2 separate regions of the Homo sapiens genome follow, and region 1 is linked to region 2. The links are contacts of gene promoters, found by promoter capture Hi-C in human tissues and cell types (Jung and others, 2019). All regions are on one chromosome and are shown on one strand. Each heading gives the region's core, a stretch centred on a gene start or on the middle of the fragment in contact. The rest is flanking DNA. Distances are from core to core; before and after follow the strand shown. Region 1 overlaps CHP1 (calcineurin like EF-hand protein 1). Region 2 holds the start of ZFYVE19 (zinc finger FYVE-type containing 19).

What was found. Contacts are between HindIII fragments. The study calls those that stand out against the background at their distance.
Region 1: a fragment that was not itself captured here is called in contact with the fragment with the promoter of ZFYVE19 in region 2 in 1 of the 25 tissues and cell types used here (lymphoblastoid cells).

The regions. Positions count from the first base shown.
Region 1 is chr15:41,236,646-41,241,234 of GRCh38, reverse strand. The region is part of intron 1 of CHP1 (calcineurin like EF-hand protein 1); the gene reads right to left. Among named protein-coding and RNA genes, the nearest start is that of CHP1, 7.7 kb to the right of the region's middle. The HindIII fragment of the contact is 5,914 bases long and covers 1-4,589 here.
Region 2 is chr15:40,804,896-40,809,414 of GRCh38, reverse strand. It overlaps ZFYVE19 (zinc finger FYVE-type containing 19), which reads right to left and starts at 2,326. Exons shown (of 11, transcript NM_001077268.2): 1 at 1,547-2,326; 2 at 175-296; 3 at 1-7. The coding sequence starts at 1,825. DNAJC17 (DnaJ heat shock protein family (Hsp40) member C17) reads left to right here and starts at 1,942. Exons shown (of 11, transcript NM_018163.3): 1 at 1,942-2,046. The coding sequence starts at 1,969. RefSeq lists enhancers at 1,294-1,343, 1,974-2,023, 2,064-2,113, 2,574-2,663. The HindIII fragment of the contact is 16,570 bases long and covers 1-4,519 here.

The sequences.
Region 1 (4,589 bases), core at 1,298-3,797, 430 kb before region 2:
GCCTCAGGCCTCAAAGGCTATTCTTGTACTAAAGTTCCCTTTAGTTTAACAAAAATAAGTCAGTTAAAGAATTACTAAATTTCAGGCTGGGCGCAGTGGCTCACGCCTGTAATCTCAGCACTTTGGGAGGCCAAGGCGGGCGGATGCTGAGGAAAAGAGATCGAGACCATCCTGGCCAACATGGCGAAACCTCGTCTCTACTAAAAATACAAAAATCTGCTGGGTGTGGTGGCGTCTGCCTCTAGTCCCAGCTACTTGGGAAGCTGAGGCAGGAGAATCACTTGAACCAGGGAGGCGAAGGTTGCAGTGAGCGGAGATCACGTCACTGCACTCCAGACTGGTGACAGAACAAGACTCTGTTTCAAAAAAAAAAAGAATTACTAAGTTTCCCAAAAGATTTTTTGAAAAAAACAAAATTTGTTCACAATCCCAACACTGCCATTTTCATTTCTTCATAGATCTTTTTTTTTTTTTTTTTTTTGAGATAGAGTTTCGCTCTTCTTGCCCAGGCTGGAGCGCAATGGCACAATCTTGGCTCACCACAACCTCCGCCTTCTGGGTTCCCGTGATTCTCCAGCCTCAGCCTCCCAAGTAGCTGGAATTATAGGCATGCGCCACCACACCCAGCTAATTTTGTATTTTTAGTAGAGACAGGGTTTCTCCATGTTGGTCAGGCTGGTCTTAAACTCCCAACCTCGGGTGATCCACTCACCTCGGCCTCCCAAAGTGCTGGGATTACAGGCATGAGCCACCGCGCCCAGCTCTTCATATATCATCTAATATCAGTTACTCGTGTACTTTACAAAGTTGTAATAGCTTGCTTTTCATTTAGTAATTCATACTTTTTCTATATTGCTTTGGAGTCCTTCTTTATCCAATTTATATAATTTTAAAATTGGTAGAAATGTTATCTAATCCGACCCCTTCAATGAACAAATGAGAGCCAGGCATGATGGCTGGCGCCTATAATCCCAGCACTTCCAGAGGCAGAAGCAGGACAATGATTTGAGGCCAGGAGTTCAAGACCAGGCTGGGGAACAAAATAAAAATAAAAATAAAAAATAAAATTATTTTAAACCAAAAAAATCCACAAATGAGCCATTAAACATCTTTCTAATCTATATCATCTAAAATAACTGGGCACTGAGGCTGGGCGTGGTGGCTCACACCTGTAATCCCAGCTGTAATCCCAGCACTTTGGGAGGCCGAGGCGGGCGGATCACGAGGTCAGGAGATTGAGACCATCCTGGCTAACACGGTGAAACCCTGTCTCTACTACAAATACAAAAAATTAGACGGGCGTGGTGGCAGGCACCTGTAGTCCCAGCTACTCGGGAGGCTGAGGCAGGAGAATGGTTTGAACCTGGGAGGCGGAGCTTGCAGTGAGCTGAGATTGCGCCACTGCACTCCAGCCTGGGTGACAGAGAGGAGACTCTGTCTCGAAAAAATAAATAAATAAAAAAGAAATAAAATAACTGGGCACTGAAACCTCCTATAGTATGTTAAGACCAGTTTATGGCTGCTTAAATTCAAAATGTGGCAAGGCCTGGTGGCTCAAGCCTGCAATACCAGCACTTTGGGGGGCTGAGGGCGGGCAGATCACCTGTGGCCAAGAGTTCAAGACCAGCCTGGCCAACATGGTAAAACCCTGTCTCTACTAAAAATACAAAAATTAGCCAGGTGTGGTGGTATAATCCCAGCTACTTGGGAGGCTGAGGCAGGAGAATCGCTTGATCCTGGGAGATGGAGGTTGCAGTGAGCTGAAATCTCACCACTGCACTCCAGCCTGGGCGACAGAGTGAGACTCCGCCTCAAAACAAAACAAAACAAAACAAACGATAACAAAAAATAATGTACTAATATGTTAAAAATAAATAATGTAAATAAGTAGCCAAAACATTAAAAAAAAAAAAACTATCTTCCAGGACGAACTGGGTTATATGGGAGTCAGTGGAGAAACATACAACCAAATGTCAACTTTTAATACTAATCAATATGGTCATATCTAAACTTATCTCCAAAATTTTAGAACAAATTTTAGAACCATAACGATATGGTTACAAGTAATTTTGTTAACAAAAAGAAGGAGAGAAGGCTTTAATTTAGGTACTAAATTCACTGTGACAAAGAATATAAAGCAATCTCAGAACAATCCCAATCTACCTATAAAGGAGCTACACCATCCATGTGTAGAAAGGTACTGGAACTGGTGTGAATGAAGGCAGATCATGTTTCCAGTGAAGTATTTTCCCCAGAAGGCTCTAAGCTAGTCAGATAGGTGCCCAAAACCTGCACAATTCTTGGTAACCCAAAGGAAATAACAGGAGTTGACAGTTACTCTCAGAGAAGGCCGTGCATATAAACGTGTCTTTTTTCTTTTTTTGAGATGGAGGCTTGCTTTGTCACCCAGGATGGAGTGCAGTGGCGCGATCTTGGCTCACTGCAAACTCTGCCTCCCAGGTTCAGGCCATTCTCCTGCCTCAGCCTCCTGAGTAGCTGCGACTACAGGTACCTGCCACCACCATGCCTGGCTAATTTTTTTTTTTTTTTGTATTTTTAGTAGAGACCAGGTTTCACCGTGTTAGCCAGGATGATCTCGATCTCCCGACCTCGTGATCCACCCGCCTCAGCCGCCCTAAAGTGCTGGGATTACAGGCATGAGCCACCGTGCCCTGCTATAAACATGTCTTGAATGAAGCTGTATTTTTTCTCCACTGGTATGGGTATATAATCATTTTAAATTGTTAAAAGATTATTTAAAAGACCCTGTTTGGCTGAGGGCAGTGGCTCATGCCTGTAATCCTAGCACTTTGGGAGGCTAAAGTGGGAGGATCCCTTGACGAAAGGCCAGTTCAAAACTAGCCTGGGCAACAAAGCAAGACTTCATCTCTATAATCAATCAATCAATCATTAGCTGGGCATCGTGGTGCATTCCTGTACGCTGAGCTATTTAGGAGGCAGAGGCAGAAGGACTGTTTCAGCCCAGGAGTTCAAGGTTGTAGTGAGCTATGATCACACCCCTCCACTCCAACCTGGGTGACAGAGTGAGACCCTGTCTCAAAAAAAAAACACACGCCAAAAAAACAAAAAAAGACCCTGTTAACGTTGCTGAAATCTTTCTATCATCACTGCATTGTGCAAAGAGGAGGAAGGCATTTCACAGAAGTGCGAAGCAGAAGTGGCAGAGGAAAGAATAAAAACAAAAAGGGAGTAAGAAAAAGTTATTTTGGAGGGCCAGGCATGGTGGCTCATGCCTGTAATCCTAGCACTTTTGGGAGGTGGGTGGATTACGAGGTCAAGAGATCAAGATCATCCTGGCCAACATGGGGAAACCCCATCTCTACTAAAAATACAAAAATTAGCCGGGCATGGTGGCACGTGCCTATAGTCCCAGCTACTCAGGAGGCTGAGGCGGGAGAATCCCTTGAACCCGGGAGGCGGGATTGCACCACTGCACTCCAGCCTGGTGACAGAACGAGACTCCATCTCAAAAAAAAAGAAAAGAAAAAGTTATTTTGTCCTTGCCTTTATTCCAAATCTTAATGCAGAAGAACAGACTGATAACCTATGTAAAGATTACAAGTACAGCTAAAGGTAGCTCTAGATAAAGGAAAGTTGAAGCCTGCGCTTCCCGGAATAGACTACACCTTAACATTCCCCCTGACATGAAGACTTCAAGCCCTGGACTAGTCTCTTAGGGATTAAGAGAGATTTTAAAACATTATATAAAACAAACAAAATCTATCTTCTTATAATTGGAGAAATTTGAATAGGAAGTGAATGATAGATAATATTAAGGTGGCTCACGTCTATAATCCTAGCCCTTTGGGAGGCTGAGGCAGGCAGATCATCTGAGGTTAGGAGTTCGAGACCAGCCTGGCCAACATGGTAAAACCTCGTATCTACTAAAAATAAAAACAATTAGCCAGGCGTGGTGGCACATGCCTGTAATCCCAGCTACTTGGGAGGCTGAGGCAGGAGAATCATTTGAAGCCAGGAGGCGGAGGTTGCAGTGAGCTGAGATCGCGCCACTGCACTCCAGCCTGGGCGACAAAAGTGAAACTCCATCTCAATTAAAAAAAAAAAAAGAAAAAGAAAAAAAGGGGCCAGGTGCGGTGGCTCACGCCTGTAATCCCAGCACTTTGGGAGGCTGAAGTGGGTGGATCACCTGAGGTCAGGAGTTCGAGACCAGCCTGGCCAACGTGGCGAAACCCCATCTCTACTAAAAATACAAAAAATTAGCCAGGCCTGGTGGCAGGCACCTGTAATCCCAGCTACTTGGGAAGCTGAGGCAAGAGAATGGCTTGAACCCAGGAGGCAGAGGTTGCAGTGAGCTGAGATCGAGTCACTGCACTCCAGCCTGGGCAACAAGAGCAAGACTCTGTCTCAAAAAAAAAAAAAAGATAGTATTAAGAAGTATTATCAACTTTCTTAGGTGTGATAATAGTATTGTTGTTACGTAAAAACCATCCCAATACTTAAGGGATACATGCAGAAGTATGAAGGGGTAAAGAGTTCCAATACCTGCAACTTTCAAATGGTTTATCCAGAAATTTACAAAAATAAAGCTTATATCTTCGCAGCTGCTG
Region 2 (4,519 bases), core at 1,077-3,576:
AGACCCTCTACAGAGAAGAAATCTAGTGTTATAAATCCTGCCATCCCACCAGGCAGTGCCCCCCACTCCAAACACTTCCTCGGCTGACTCTCGCGACAGAGTACAAAGCTGTGAGGGCTGGCCAGATGCCCACTGCCATACTTGGCTGAACTTTCACCCATGCCTGCCTCTTACCTGGTCAGGACCTCATGGCATTGCTTGCAGACTTTCTGTTGGGTGTTCCCAGTCCGAGGCACTGCTGCACTGAAGCTTAGGCAGCCTGAACAGAAGGCCCTGCCACAATTCTTACAGCCGTACTACAAGAAACATGAAGCGGGAGATCCCCCTCTCACCCGCCCCTGCAGGCTGCTCCCAGGGACTCTCCAAGCACACACAGAGAGAAGTCACTGAAGTTATGACCAGCTGCTGGGAGGAAGAAGAGGAGTGGGGCCCCTAAGGCCTAGGGATGGTGAGTAAAGCAATTCCTCGGTTTCCAGTACCTTATTCAAGCCAAATGAAGGTTTATACAAAATTCCCATGCTTTCTACCCTGTCTTCAATTCCCTGACCCAGGGATGTAGAAGACAGATAGATAAAGCCCAGTATTTCAGGCCACTGACTCTTCCACAAAGGAGAATCAGAGAGACAGGGCAGAGCCGATGCCTCCTCTGCTCTTGCAGAGATGGAGGGAGGCTTGGCTCAGGATGGGCTAACAATAGCCTCCATTTATTAAGCACTTACTATGTGCCAGGCACTAAACCCAGTACTTAACATTCATCATGTGATTTATTCCTTACAATTTACACACATTATTTTACTTAATCTTGATGCCAACCGTGATTATCCTTATTTTGAGAGGGCCAGAGAGGTTACATAACTTATCCAAACCAAGGTCACCGCCTCAATAAGACAGCAGAGCTCAGATTTGAACGCTGACTCCAAAATCCAGGTTGGTGAATGCTGCACGGTCCTGCCTTCCTGCGTGACACTAATTTACTCCATCTAGTTCCCATCATCTCCTGGTCAGAATCCCTGGCCACAACTGAGGCAGAGGGAACCTGCAGTTTACCAGAGGAATCTGGCAGGTCTGTGATAGGGACAGGACAGTCAGCCTTCACCATGGTGCCCCGGAAGCAGGAGGAAGTGTGGTAATCTAACTCCAGCGACCTGGAGAAGGGCAGGCTGCGGGATGGGGAAGATTTCAGAGCAGAGGGAGTAACGGGCTTGGTGTGATGGACACCGCGCTTCGGAGGAGCAGGGTGGAGAGAAGAAAACCGCCAGATGCTACACTGGGCCGACAGAAAAGAGTAGCTTTGCAAAAACGACGGCAGCGCGCTTTACAGTTTATAGGGAACTCTCACCTAAAGCACTTCAGTGGACCCTCACATAAACCCTGAAAGCGAGAGAATGTTAGCCCCATTTTACAGAAATGGAAACTGAGGATCAATGACTTCATCAAAACCACACAGCTGGAAAGGAGCCGTAAGACCAAGTCTTTGGACGTTAAGTCCCGCGCTTTTCCCTCCTCTCCTCCCTGGCCCTGCAGCCCTCGGGGAGGGAAGACTCGCCTCCTTCTTGAAGAGGGTGAACTTGACAGCGCAGCCGTAGCACCTACTCTCCATGGTGGCTCCCAGCACCGCAGGGTCTGCAGAGCTGAGATCACGCCGGCCAAGTCCTGGGCCCCTTGGACCCTCACCCCAGCTCCGCCCTTCCCTTCCCTGCCCTGCCCCGCCCCACACGCCCACTGGCACTGTCCCGCCGCGACCTAGAGCAGGGAATCCGGACGCTCTCCTGCAGCCAGCGTACGGCAGCGGCGGCAACGGGGGCTGCTGGGAGTCGTAGTTCATTCACGACTGCCGGCCTCCCTCAGAGTCAGTCAAGCCTGACCCAGAACACAATTCCCAGAGGGCTAGGCGCCGCTCGGAGCCTGCAGTCCTCACGCGCGCTTAGACTCTTGGGAGTTGTAGTACGAATCCGTCAGGCCGGAACCATGGCAGTGACCAAGGAGCTCTTACAGATGGACCTGTACGCGCTGCTAGGCATTGAGGAGAAGGCAGCGGACAAAGAGGTGAGAACGGTGGCGAGGAAGGCTGATCTTGAGAGGTCTGGCGGTCCTTCCTGTCCTAGCGCCTCGGCCACTGCTGGCATCCGCTCTCCAGGTTCATTCGGGTCCTGGGCGGGGAGCGAGGGTCGGCGCTATGCCCTCCGCAGGCGGGCTCCCAGACATTTCCTGGACGGTCCGAGGGCCTCAAGAGGAAGCGGGGTACAGAGGGCTCTTCGCGCCGGGTGGCTGTGCTCTCCCCGTGGCCCCTGTCTCCTAGAGGCCGCGGGGCGAGGCAGCAAGGAACGCTAGCCTCCTCTGCGCCTGCGCAGTCTCGGCCTCCGTTTCCGCTTCTGCCTTGACTGTGACAAGAGGTGCCTCATTTCAGTCTCTTCTGCAGGCTGATTTAATTCTTCCACTAAGAGCCTAGAACGAAAGAAAAGTAAGATCTCAAAGCCTCTCCACTCCCTTTTCATGCCCCCTTGCCAATGTGACCGATGACCCTGCTGTCTCTATTTTCTTTTCCACTCAAGCCCATTGACTCTTTTCAAGTAGCTGATGCCCTTCTCAGCATGTGCTAGTTAGTGGGCTAAAAGCAGGAGGATCAGAAGGTTAAGGCAGATGGTATAGAGGTCCATGCTACCTTAGGTGGTGATAAAGATGCCAGGGAGTGAAACACTGATCAAGCTGGATTTAGGATTTCTTTTATCTCCCCCTGGATCATGGTGGTAGTTTTAACAATATACGAAGGAGAGGCGTTCATCAAATGAAAATTAGTGCCCAACTGAGCCGAGATCGCGCCACTGCACTCCATCCTGGGCGACAGAGCAAGACTCTTTCTCAAAAAAAGAAAGAAAGAAAGAAAATTAGTGTCTACTAGGCCGGGCGCGGTGGCTCACGCCTGTAATCTCAGCACTTTGGGAGGCCGAGGCGGGCGGATCATGTGGTCAGAAGTTCGAGACCAGCCTGACCAATATGCTGAAACCCCTTCTCTACTAAAAATACAAAAATTAGCCGGGCGTGGTGGCACACACCTGTAGTCCCAGCTACTTGGGAGGCTGAGGCAGGAGAATCACTGGAACCCGGGAGGCGGAGGTTGCAGTGAGCTGAGATTGCACCACTGCACTCCAGTCTGGGCGACAGAGCGAGACTGTCTCAAAAAAAAAAAAAAAAAAGGAAAAAAAAATAGTGCCCACTAATGTCCCAGTACTTCTGGGCTGCCCTGCTCATGGGGTGAGTGAGCTTTTGAGAAGAGGAAGCTCTGGGGCAGAAAATCAGAGAGACCCAGAGGGCCCTTGAGAAATGCTGTCAACCTGCACAAATCTGTCCCCTGCAGCCGCAGCTGAAATCAGAAATGGCCATGGGATGTCTATGAAGCATCAAAAGCATCTGCTCCACCTCTCTCGTGTTTCAATATTTTAGGATTAATAATTCCTAACATCTGTATAATGCTTACTATGTCCTAGACAGTATTTTTTTTTTCTGGATAGTATTCTAAGTGCTCTATGTTTACAAATTATTATTTTTTAAATTCTTTATTATTATTATTTTTTATTATTGTTTTTGAGACGGAGTCTCGCTCTGTGGCCCAGGCTGGAGTGCAGTGGCGCGATCTCGGCTTACTGCAACCTCCGCCTCTCGGGTTCACGCCATTCTCCTGCCTGAGCCTCTCCAAGTAGCTGGGACTACAGGCGCCTGCCACCATGCCCGGCTAATAATTTTTATTTTTAGTAGAGACGGGGTTTCACCGTGGTCTCGATCTCCTGACCTCGTGATCTGCCCACCTCAGCCTCCCAAAGTGCTGGGATTACAAGCGTGAGCCACCGTGCCCGGCCTATTATTATTTTTTGAGACGGAGTCTCGCTCTGTCGCCCAGGCTGGAGTGCAGTGGCGCAATCTCAGCTTACTGCAACTTCTGCCTCCCAGGTTCAAGCGATTCTCCTGCCTCAGCCTCCGGAGTAGCTGGGACTACAGGCATGTACCACCACGCCCGGCTAATTTTTTTTTTTTTTTTTTTTTTGAGACAGAGTATCACTCTTTGGCCCAGGCTGGAGTGCAGTGGCATGATCTCGGCTCACTGCAACCTCCGCCTTCCTGTTTCAAGTGATTCTCCTGCCTCAGCCTCCCAAGTAGCTGGGATTACAGGCACCCGCCACCACGCCCAGCTAATTTTTGTATTTTTAGTAGAGACGGGGTCTCACCGTGTTGGCCAGGCCAGTCTTGGATTCCTGACCTCGTGATCTTCCCACCTCGGCCTCCCAAAGTGCTGGGATTACAGGTGTGAGCCACTATGCCCTGCCTGCAAATTATTTAATTAGTACTTTATTAATAGTGAGAAACTATTTGAGACATTTCACAAAAGATCCAAGTGGGAAATCTGGAGGGTTTTTTTTTGAGACGGAGTCTCACTCTCTTGCCTAGGCTGGAGTGCAGTGGTGCAACCTTGGCTCACTGCAACCTCTGCCCCCCAGGTTCAGGGAATTCTCCTGCCTCAGCCTCC